Regions from separate parts of the Homo sapiens genome. Here region 2 is linked to region 1. The links are contacts of gene promoters, found by promoter capture Hi-C in human tissues and cell types (Jung and others, 2019). All regions are on one chromosome and are shown on one strand. The core of a region is centred on a gene start or on the middle of the fragment in contact, and the rest is flanking DNA. Distances in the headings are between cores, read along the strand shown. Region 1 holds the start of ZNF746 (zinc finger protein 746). Region 2 holds the start of TRC-GCA16-1 (tRNA-Cys (anticodon GCA) 16-1).

Evidence for each region. Contacts are between HindIII fragments. The study calls those that stand out against the background at their distance.
Region 2: a fragment that was not itself captured here is called in contact with the fragment with the promoter of ZNF746 in region 1 in 1 of the 25 tissues and cell types used here (liver).

Annotation. Positions count from the first base shown.
Region 1 is chr7:149,495,058-149,501,067 of GRCh38, forward strand. ZNF746 (zinc finger protein 746) reads right to left here and starts at 2,752. Exons shown (of 7, transcript NM_001394198.1): 1 at 2,456-2,752. The coding sequence starts at 2,479. RefSeq lists enhancers at 1-275, 1,070-2,013 and silencers at 2,147-2,206, 2,447-3,116. The HindIII fragment of the contact is 4,774 bases long and covers 1,374-6,010 here.
Region 2 is chr7:149,545,432-149,551,441 of GRCh38, forward strand. TRC-GCA16-1 (tRNA-Cys (anticodon GCA) 16-1) reads left to right here and starts at 1,109; the gene lies at 1,109-1,180. It also overlaps the pseudogene ZNF767P. The HindIII fragment of the contact is 7,807 bases long and covers 1-6,010 here.

The DNA of each region.
Region 1 (6,010 bases), core at 1,502-4,001:
TGTTTTTTAAAGCATCTCATGTCCCCTTTTAACAAACATAAAAATCTAATGGCCAGTTCCTCTTCCCCCAGGACAGTCTCATTTTGTCACCTTCCCATCTGCCCCTCCCCCACAAGCTAAAATCCCCATGACTGCAAATCTCCATCAGTCCAGAGTTAGGCTTTTTGACACTGCCTGAGCCCTACAAGATTCTTTCTCTTTCCCAATTCCCACCCCCTCAAGGTAAAAATGACGGCCTCCGACATTTTTGTAGCTGTACCAGGAGCAGTGACATACCCTGCAGTCTGGTGAGGAAAGTACATATATGCCACAGTTAGACTTGTATATGGACAGCAACCATCTTAATTAGAGACGGGGGCCTTCCCTGTCATTGGAAATGTTCACATGGCGTATCAGTGACCGGCAGCTGGGACAAGGAAGAATGGGCACATTTTGCGGTGGGTAGGGAGCTGGACTGTTTGAGCCACCCACATCTGAATGTGGGACCTACAGGGCACAGAGGAGCTCCTGGTATCGGGACCTGAGGATCAACGCCTCCTTACAACATTCTGCAAAATAATTCCTCAACAAAAGGTTGGTGATTATTTCCAAAATGAAGAAGTAGCTACTAGAAACCAGTGTGGATTCACTTAGAGAAAGTCACTGAGAACTAGAATGCGGATGGACAGCTCAAAAAATAGAGACAAAAGGAGAGTTTGAGCAGAGGGAGAAACAAACTTGTCTAGGACAGTGCTTAAGATACTATCTATTTGGAAGGAAGCAGGACCCAAAGAAGGTAGGACTCTAAGGGGTCTTCAAGGCTGGGAGATTCTGGACAAGCTGAACTGTTTCTAGGCGAAAACCCCAATGCGGGTGGGAGTCTTGCTCTCAAGGAGTAGGTGGTCCTACAGCACCTGGGTGGGCCAGCGTGGTTCTGGGCTTGAGTCCACCCTCCACCTAAGGCCACTGTTCCTTCCCTCACCTCTCCTTTCTCAGATCAATCCCTGTCACGTGATCCCAGACGCCAAGAGTTTACTCCAGAAGCTTCCTTTCAACTGGTCACCAGCTCCTTATCCACTGAAATCCTACCCATCCTCCACGTGCATTATTATGGGCTTTGTGTGGCATGAAAGGGACCTCTGCTAAACTACTTTATTAAGAAAATATTAGTCTTTTACTCATGGACAACAAGGTGCATGGTTTTCTTACAGTTCTGATGGGGCCAGGAAACCCTGTGTAAGGTCTTCACACTATGTGGTGGGAGGTGGCGACTGTGCGCTGCTCACTCCAGCCCAGCTTCTTACTGACAAGTGGCTGGAATATGTGGGGCTGTCCTTGGACTCCTGCCAGGGGAGCTGAAACTCTTTGCTTGAGAGGAGCTGATGGTAAGAGGAGCCGGATCCCTCATCCACTGCCCACCCGCAGGATGAAGTCCAGGCATGCAAACCCCTTCTTAGTCTCTCTCTGCAGACTCCTTTCCCACTGCCTCCAAACCAAAACCATCTTCTCCAGGCTCATGGACTCCTTTCTGTGCCTGCACACGCCCTGCACTGTCCCGTCTCTCTGCGCCTTTGCCCAGGCACTCCTCCCTCCCTGAAAGCACCACCGGTCTAGCTGGGCCTGAAATCCTAGCCTTCCCTAAAAGCCCGGCTCAAATCACAGAGGCGCAGAGCATCAGGCCAGGAGGGGTGGACAGCGGTACCAAGAGGCCCCCTGACACTCCTTCCCCCGGAGCCCACCGCAAGCTTCCACCTGGGCGCCAGCACTCACCCCTTTCTGTTTTGCACGATTATTGCCCGCGTACCTGCCTGCCTGGTCCTTGAACACACAGCCACTGTGTGTCTTTTCACACTTTCCAGCTGGGTAAGCCTGGGCAAGTTAAGTTCTCTAGGCCCCGGGTTTTTCTTTTGTATGACAGAGATTAACACCAGTACCCATCCCACAGGCTTGCTGTGAGGACAGACTAACGCCTCAACAGGGCTTGTGGAAGTGCGTGGCTCTATATTCCCTTCCGCGCCGACCCCGGGAAGCTGGGCACGTAGTGGGAGTCGGTGTATGCGGATTCGAAGCCGGACACCTCCCAGGTGCCACCAGGCCGCTGCGGGGGAGATGGAGAGGGACCTACAGGCCGAGCGCCAGGCAGAGAAAGGAGCCGCGGGTGGGGGGGCACCCAGAAGGAGGGGACAGCGGCTGGGGCGGGGGCAGGAAGCCCCGGAGGGCCCAAAGAACTTGGCGTGGGGCGGCCCGGGGCGGGGACAACCGTTCCGCCAGCGCTCGGGTTCGGCTCGGAGTGGGGGCCCGGCCGACGGGCGCAGTAGGCCCCGGCGGACCCCGCGCCCCATTCGCGGGAGCCCCAGGCCCGGTGGTCCGGCCCGGACCCCGGAACCCCTCCCCAGGGCCTGCGGCGCCGTGTGCCGGGGCCGGGCCGCCTGGGGCCCCCAGGCCGCGAGTCCCTGCGCGCGCGGGTCGCCCTTACCGGAGCCGCGACCGCCTCGGCCATGGCCCTGCGCTGTCCCGCCCGGCCCGGAGGAAGTCGTCGTCGCCGCCGCCGCGCGCGGCACCACGCAGGCCCGGCCGCCCGGTGCTCTCCGCAGGCGGCGCCTGCCTGGCCTTTCCTCTGCCGCCGCTCCTCGCTGGCTGCCCCTGCGCCGCGCCGCCCGCAGTCGCGCCGCCTCCGTCAGCGCCCGGCCGGTCCACACTGCATCCTGGGAGCCGGCGCCGCGGCCCGGCAGACGAAGGCCCGTGAGGCTTCCTGGAGGCAGCGCGGCCGCACAGCCCCACCTGCAGCCTGAGAGGCGAACGGCAGGCGCTGCGCCCGCCTGCCCGCGGCCCCGCCCCGCCCCGCCCAGCCCCGCCCGCGGGGCCCGACGGGAGGACCTAGCGACCCCGGGCCGACCCCGCGACCCCGCGACCCCGCGACCCCGGCCGGACTGCCGAGCGCGGGGGGAGTCACTGCGCTGGCCCCGCGGCCCAGCCCGAGGACTCGGTTATTGAAAGGGTCCCCCTCATGGGACCCGCCTGGCCGCGCCCGCGGGCGAGCACGGGCTTCCGGGCAGGGCGTCCCCCGGGTGACCGCGGCCAGGGCGGCCCCCTCGCCCTGGGATGCCCGGCTCCCCTTCCCCCGCCCCACGGGCACTTCTGCTGCCCGAGGTCCTGGGTCTGGAGGTTTAGGCTATTTTGGGGAGGACAGATGTAACTCATGCCCACCTGTGTTTGAAATGGAATAAATACTTCCAACAACAGGAATATAGTTCGGTAAACCCCGGTAGGCAACCACTTAGCATTTTCTGTAATGGGTTTATTACAGTAAATTTTTTTAATGGCATGAGCAATGGGACGCAATACCATCATTTAAAATGATTTCGGTGAAGGTCTTGGTAGGAACAGATGTTCATGATGTTTTAAGAGAAAAAGCCTGTCCAGGACGATCCTGTCTTTGTTTTAAAAATAACATTTTAAAACAATATAGGACATATGTAGCGTCATATACTGCGTACATGTATAATTACAGTTTTGAAAAGTTTGGAAGCATATATATCAACATGGCCTCAGTAGTTCTATTAAAGGTCTATTCCTTTAATAGACCACGGGCCGTTTTTATGCCTTTTCTAATTTTTTCCAATTCATGTTTTTATTTTTCCATGACAAGGATAGTATTTTTAAACAAGGAGAGAAAAATAAAAATTTAAATGTTCTCAAAGAGGCCAACCAGAGCAGGGGAAGGAGGGCGCCTTGGACGGGCCCCCACGTAGTTTCAGAGGCTCATTGCCTTTCAGGAACACGACTTGCTCATCTGTGTATTCCCCAAGACTAACTAGCCAACTGCCTAGCACACACTGATAAGAAAATATGTGAGAGATCTGTAATCTTTTTCAAAGAAGGCAGACCTTACAGAATAGATAAAATTTGAGCTGGATCTTGAAGAATTGGCAAAATATTGATAGGCAGAGAGCATTTCAGACCAGAGGGTGGTAGTAGAGGTGTGAGCTGGATGACAGCCCAAAAAAAAATTGATGTAGGAAGATATAAAGCATTTTAGGGCCGGGCGCAGTGGCTCACGCCCGTAATTCTAACACTTTGGGAGGCCAAGATGGGTGGATTGCCTGAGCTCAGGAGTTTGATACCAGCCTGAGCAACATGACAAAACCCCGTCTCTACTAAAAATAGAAAAAATTAGCGAGGCGTGGTGGCACGCACCTGTAATCCCAACTACTGGGGAGGCTGAGGTACGAGAATCGCTTGAACCCGGGAGGCAGAGGTTGCAGTGAGTGGAGATCACACCACTGGGTGACAGAAATACAGTGCATTAGAAATAAAGAGACATTTTTAGTGTGCAATTTAAAAAGTTCCCTTTTGACAGGCTGAGTCGGATATGCCAGGGTCATCTCTAGGTAGTAATTTCCAAGCCTGGCTCTCAGAGCAGCTGCATCAGTCTCTGGGGAAGCTTGTGAAGGATATGGATTTCTGGATCCCATCTCATATCTACTGAATCAAAATGTCTTTGGGATGGGTCCTGAGTAATGTGGAGAAAACTTATTTTAAAAGAAGGTCTCTTTTTAACAAGTTCCTTGTAGGGGTTGAGGTAAGGGTGAAGCTGGGGCTCTGCAGACAGCCAAGTTAGGGTAATGATGACTTGCTCTGTCCTCCACTGAAGACAGGCATCTATTGCAGAGCATCTCTGGTGCTGGTTTTCCAGCCTCTATTTGTAAAAAGAACGAAGATAAACCTCCTTGGATTGATATATGAGGCTTCCAAAGCCTTTCCCTCCATTTTGGGCACAGGTGTCAAAAGCAGGCATGAGAGTTTCCACTCCTGTGCCTTTCCTCATGCTTTTCCCCTCTCCTCTTGCCCACCCGAAGTTCTCACACCTTTTCCAGACCAGCATATGCCCTAATTCTTCCAGTTAAGTCTCTCCATGCCAATCACGGCTGCAGCAAGCTCTGCATTGTCCCAACTCTAATAATTTTTATTCTCGGTGCCATTCATATGGCACTGAGAAAAAAATTACAATACAAGGTAGTAGTTCCTAACTCACCTCTTGGATTATAAGTTCCCTGAGAGCAGGGACTATATCTTATTTCTCTTGTCTCTCCTGCAGTGCCTAATACTGGGCAGGTTTAGGCAACATAAAGTAATGATTTAGTACAAGTCTTAATTGATTGCTCTGTGTGGTGTGATCAACTGTGGTCCAAAGAATCATCCCCTCCTCTGCTCTAATACTTCTGCAGCCCCTACCATCTCCACCTTCCTGCTGAGTATTCCTAGAAGAAAAATCATAAAGCATTTTCAACACACCCAGAAGGAGCCTGGAAGGGCTAGAGAACATGAGACCACATGTCAACTCAAGGTGTCAGGGAGGCAGGAAGTGTGTGGTTCATACTGCACATAGACTGTGTAGATGTAGGGACTATGGACCCATGCACCCCTATGAGTGCTTCCTATACTCCAGCAGGTACAGCAGAACAGGTGGACCTCTATTTTTCCAGCTGCTCCCTTAGGCCTGAGCTTTTCCCCTGGGACCAGGCACACAGCCTAAAAGTTCAGGCTTGGGGTTTTCAAAAAGACTGTGGTAATCATTGCTGCCCACTAAATATTTCCAGCTGGTTTCTCTTGAAGACCATGGCTGGATGGCACTTCCTGGTTTCTTCTGGCTGGGTTGGACCATGTGACAAGTTCTGGCTGATGTTTTTTCTTTCCCTCTACTATGGTAACCCAGCAATATTTGAGGAGGTGGGTGCTGTATTTGCCTGCATCCTGGAGGTGGGGGACATTGAGTAGACTCCCCAGCCATCCCATGATGAGCTACTTACAGCATGAACATGAAACTTTTTGTTGTAACATGGTTTGGGGGTTGCTTGTTCCACAGTTTAACCTAGCCTATCCTGACAGATACAAAGGCATGGTGAAAGTTGGCCAGGCATTGCAGCAGGCATCCTTGGGCTCCAGGTGGTGTCTGCTCGAGCTTAACTTCCCTTACATTGTCTGAGTGCTCTCACATTGAGCGTTACCCTGCAGCGGTTAGATGTGGTGA
Region 2 (6,010 bases), core at 1,228-3,727, 50 kb after region 1:
AGCCAGAAGACCGAGAGAGTAGCCAGTGACAGAGCTCCACGTGTCTGTGAATTGGCTCATCTCCTCCAGCAAGAAAGATGGAATCTGAGCTCAGAAGAGTATGCATGCTCAGGTTTGGAGAACTGAACACCAAATAGCAACAGAGTTCATTTGACTGGTGCTACCTCAAGTAATTTATATTAACTCTATTCTTAGTTATTAACCTTGCCAATTTTGCTGTCTTTACTTCCCCCAATAAATATTTATTGCATCCCAACTTTTATGCTCAATATTGTGTTTGGCACTGTAGAAAGACACAAAGAGATTGCATTTTCCTTTGTGAGCCTCTGTGCATTCTGAGCTTTGGTCTCCGTGACAGTTATCACAGGCACTGCCACCATCTCATGTGACCCTTTGGGTGGGTGTCCTTTCTCTACATTTTTGAGATCTGTATGGCCTTTTAATGTCAGAAGTGGCCTTAATGTAGGATGTTGGCCAAGGGCCAGGTTCACTTTGCAGGACCTGTGGTGCTGTGCCTCAGGGCAGGGGTCTGCCCAGCAGAGGAGACATTTCTGGTCCTTGCTGCTTCAGTTGTGCTTCTAGCCTGAGGCCCCTTGGGACAGCTGGGGAAGCTTCCTGAGCTCCATGATGGGATTCAAATAATTCGAATTATTGGTATGGGCTTTCCTGGGTTCAGTCAAGACCATGCAAAAAACCAAGAATAGTTGACATGAGAATAAAAAGAGAGGAGATGAGCAGAAAAGCCCCCAATTCTATCCACTGGGGTAGGGGTGAGGGTGGAAAGAAGGGACGTGGGGACACATTCAAGTTAGTGGACTTTAAGGAGGAGATGAAGGAAGAAAGGAGTGGCCCTGCTCTTGGCAATGATTCTTCAAGCAGGTGTCTTGGAAGTGGTCCTAAGACGAGATGGAAGTGAGCTGAGGAGGCTTCTAGGGGACCAAGTAGGGAGGGATTAATAAGGAAGAAGAGGGCCAAAAGGGCTAATTTGCTGTGAGGCAAAATGTCCAAATCTCTAAAACTTTCTAAGAGTCAACGTAAATTTCAGTGCATAGATGTGAGTGTTGCAACATAGGTGAAAAGGTATTTAGTAGAAACTCCTAGAAGCTGAGGGGGTATAGCTCAGGGGTAGAGCACTTGACTGCAGATCAAGAAGTCCTTGGTTCAAATCCAGGTGCCCCCTGGAAAGAGTCTCTTTTTAGTACCACATACCAATTGGTACCTTTAGGTTGCCCCAGGTCCTATGGCAGGTTGAGGGGAGGTTCCTGGGAAGGAAGTGGAGGGAGAAGAGATGGAAAGGAATCTAGTCATCCTTTGGGCTGCGGCAATGGAAAGTCCCAAAACTAGGAATGTGGTTCTAGCTATGATCTTGTTATTAAGGTGATGTGTGAACTCATGCAGGCCTTTAGTCTTTGTTTTTTCTTTCAGGCATATAACATGCAAGTATAGACTAAAATCAAAGTTGCCAAACATGTCTGAGAACCAGAATGACCTGGGAGGGTGGTCAAGTATACAGATGCCTTGGGTCCCACCTTGAGATTCTGATTTGTTAGGTGTGAGGTTTGATTTTTCTTTCTTTTAATCTTCCCACATCACAGAAACACCAGATGATCTCCTGGGCCGCAAAATTCAGCAAACACTTAGGAAGCAGATTCACCACGTACCAGTTATTAATCTGCAGTTTGTACCACTTGCTCGAGTCCAGTGATGCAGAACACTCACACAGCAAGTTAAGCAAAGCAACTTTATTCCTTACAGGCAGGCAAGGGACAACAGAAGCCTGGGATGTAGGGTGAACTGGTCCCCCAAGGCTCAGGAACCTGCCCAGGGCAGATGGAGTCTCACCTGTGTGTCCCACTTCACACTGCAGCTGAGGGACCCTGAACGCCCTCTGCTGTCAAGTTTTATACCCCAAGGGCAACTTGGATCATTGGGCTAAAGCGTTGCAGGACATCCTGTTCTAGGTGTGATGGGAACAGAGTCCAGGTTTAGGACAGTTCCTCCTTATCTCAGGACAACACTCCCAGTACATTCTCTAGTTATTCTGAGAACTACAACCAAGAAAAGAGGGAAGCACCGGGTTGGCCAAGGCCATCCGGAGACTTGTCCTGCTGGGTCATTTAAAAAGCTTTTCTAGGATAACGTTGGCTTTCCAAGTGGTTTTCCAAGCTGATGTCTTTCCCACTGAGGAGAAGCTGTAGGCCTGTGGACTGCCAGGTAGGAGGAGGTTGAGGTTTAGAGGAAAGAGGAGAGCAGGAATGGGTTGTTTGCAGTGGGGCTGTTCCCATGGACTCACCAAGAAGAAATCGAGGTGCTGATGGGGCTGCACAAGTGCTTATCAGAAACAGCTGTAACAAGTGAGGGGTGCAACTGAAGGTACAGCATTTGCCTGCAGGCCAAGCGGTCTCTGGTTCAAATCCATGTGCCTCCCACCCCCCTTCAGTTTTCTACTTATTGAACAAAAGCCTTTTCACCTCGGGTCTATTATACTGGAATCTTCCTGCAAGGAGAGAAGAGAGGATAGACAGCATAGAGCTTTGCCAGGAAGCCTCTCTAGTTTCTTGTAGGCCCCAGTGAACTTCTCCAGGCGACTCTGTCCCCTCATTAACCCTTATCCTCAGAGCCTTGAAATGGGCCCAATTGTCCCATAGAACTGATGTTTATGGTTTTTCTTGAATAAACCTAGAAATTGACCCTCTCAGTCTTGAAACCCAAGGAGAAATTTACATTTATGTCATCTGAATTCCTTTCTCAGGAAACCAGCCAGCAATCCTCCCAGACGGTATCAAGAAACTGAAATTTACCAGATCCCCACATCTGGAAAGTGAGAAGCCAGACCCCTCACCCATCATGATTCCCCAGGTGACCACCTGCTGCCTGTTGGCCAACTCCTCTTCCTTGCCCCTCGTTAATCCCTGTTTTCCCACATGTAGTTACATTTCTTCCCTGCTATATAAACCCCTAATTTTAGTCAGTTGATGATGATGGATTTGAGACTGATCTCTTGTTCACCCTGTCTGTAGCACCTGGATAAAGCCTTCTTCCCTGACAATACTTGTCTCAGTGACTGGCTTTCTGTGAGATGAGCAGCAAGACCTAGATGGAACCCCTGGTGTTTCCGCAACAGCCTTGCAACTTTCACTTTCCCTGTGGGAACGCTCATCTCGGCCATCCCCTGGAAGGGCGGGTAGGGAATTGACTCCTCTGGAATCCTCACCCCCAGGGACTGTGTAGCATAGGGCCTTGCCTGGAGCAGGTCCCATGGCTGCAGCTGCTCCACCCTGAGCTGCTCTGGCAGGGTCTATACAGAGTGAAGGAACTAAAGGAAGAGCGGTGAGGAGGGCTCCTAAGTGGCACAATGACTGCCAGGAAGTGGCTGTTATAGGCAGGGGTTTGCAAGCTACTTTTAGTCAGGAGGCCCCACACTATGCCCTGGGGCTACTTCCCTGCCCCTTCTGTGTTTATGAAGCCCCAGTATCTGCTTCATAAACACCAGATGTGCATGTGGGGGGCATCTGTCTCCCACCTGAGCAGAGGCTCCCAGTGCCCACTGGGGTGAGTGAGCTGCAACGTCTTCTCAGGGAGGTGAACAAGGTGAAATGCTGTAACACTGACTGTTGGAATCTGGGAGAAAGACTGAAAGAGGCAGTGGTTTCCCCTGTGTCTGAATGAGTGCTCAATTATTCCTTGTGGCAGCATCCCGCGGATGATCAGTTGTTGCTTGCGGGCTTTGTTATTTCAAGTCAATAAAACCACATCCTTACCAATAGGGAGACATCTATTCAATTCCCTTCTGCAAGCGGTATCAGACTTCCACGTGTGGGTTCGCTGCCTCGTTTTATACTAGTTGAAATTCTTATTTGGGACTCGGGGGACCTCTCTTGCCCAGCATGCCCTGCTGGGCTCACTCCATTCGGTCTCTCCATGGAGTTAAAAGCAACAACAGCTAAAAGCAAAGATCCGAAACAAACAAAAAATAATAATTACTTTTTAAACAAAGAAAAAAAAAGCAAAGATGTGAACCCAATTCTGCTTAATCCCTAGCAGATTTTTTCTCCCTGAACAAGAGTATAACAGTCCATAATAACATAATTGTAGCTGCAATCTGCTTACTCCCATAAAATATTAGCCTAAGAGACAAACACTGCCACTTTCTAAGGTGCAAGTCAATTTCTTTTCAAGTTTTGAAGAGTGTAGAAGTTGGAGCCTCATGTAGGAAGCCTGGCCTTGCTCTTGCAGTGCTACAGGCAGGAGCCGTGCAGGCAGAAGGAGCCTCAGCAGAGGCCAGCATCAAGTGCGGGTCCTGGAGTGCCTGAGGACGGGGAGCGTGGGGAGTGGAGCAGGGAAGGTGGTGCAGGGAGTAGCAGGGGAACAGGATGCTAAAGATGGAAGGGCTTTATAGTCACCACACAGAATTTGGTTCCATGCAATGCAGCTCAGAGCTACCCTCCGTCCTTTTTCAGCTCTCCAGACTTCTTTTTCCCCTATGACTTCTACCCACCAACTTGCAGTCAGAAATGCGGATATAACTTTTGACTCCCCTGAAATGTAACTACTAATAGCCTACTGTTGACTGGAAGCCTTTCTGATAACATAAACAGTCAATGAACACATATTTTATATGTTCTATGTGTTATATACTGTATTCTTAAAATAAAGCTAGAGAAAAGAAAATATTAAGAAAATCATAAGGGAAAATTTATTTCCTATGGAATAAGTAGAAGTGAAGTGAATCATCATAGAAGTCCTAATCTTTGTCATCTTCACAGAGTAGGCTGAAGAAGAAAAGAGGGGTTGGTCTTACTGTCTTGGGGGCAGCAAAGATAGAAGACAATCTGTCTGTTAAGTGGACCCACAGTTCAAACCTGTGTTGTTCAAAGTCAACTGTAGTTTTACTTATAGACTTTACAGATTCAGGACCAGGCTTCCTGGGTCAAAGTAATGGGAAGTGCAGAACCACCTTTGCTGACTAATGCAAGCCCAGATGAAGGGCGCTTGAACTGGAAGCAAGGCCTCCTAGTCTGCACTCAGCTACTGCACCCTGGCACTGGCACCTGGGCTGGCTGAGCAGTATCTCTGACTCTGGAAGCTGAGTCCCACGCTCTTGTTGCCTGCGGCTCTTTCTTCACACCCAGAGTGGCTCTGGTTTACTAGCAGGCCTGCTCCCCTACTAAGAGGACACCTTGCTTCCCTTTCAGTCCCCTCTTCTGGCCATTTCAGCCAGCCCTCCTCAGCCTGAAGTCTTCAGCTCCTTGGAGGGCAGGTGGATAGAGAAGCTAGAACCACTTCCTCAGATCTCACTTGGGCTTTTCTGGTAGCTAGGGAGCTACTGTAATTTAAAAATCAGCTCACCCTCTGGGCGTGTCTCTCTGCAGAAGGTACGTGCTCTAAGAGGCGGTTTGTGCATGTGTTGCTGAAGGGGACTTAGGAAGTGCTTACCTTTATTCGAGATGATGGGGAATCTTCCAGACCAGGTATGACCACTGGGAAAAGTGACTGTCTGGAAAGCTGGGGTTGCCTAGAAACATATATGAAGGGGAAAGGTACTGTGACTTGGTGTTTGTTCCTCCCAGCAGGACCTGAATAATCCCTGGGGAGGGGGCTCTGCTGTTGGGCAGGCAGAGGACAGGACGCTCTGGCCCAGTGCAGCAAACACTCCAGGGGCTGCAGGCCACCTCCACCCTAACATCAGCCTTGCTGCAGAGCCCCCTGCCTGTGCTGATGTGGGAAGGGGTCCTGATTAGGGAGTGTGAATAGTCCTGTAATTGGGAAGATCTAGAGTTGTGAAATAATGTTCATTTTTTGAAATTGTGGCTTTGGGTGAAATTCAAACATTGCAGAAAGGTGAGACCTAAACATGGTACTTATGCTGAGACTCTGCTTGGGGGGCCCACCTGAGCAGCCAGCCAGCCCCCACCCTGATGATATTGCCACTGGATTACAAGGCATGGAGTGTCTCAGGCTTATCACAGGTAGGGGTGAGAATAAAACAGGAGTCATGGGCTTTGCATGG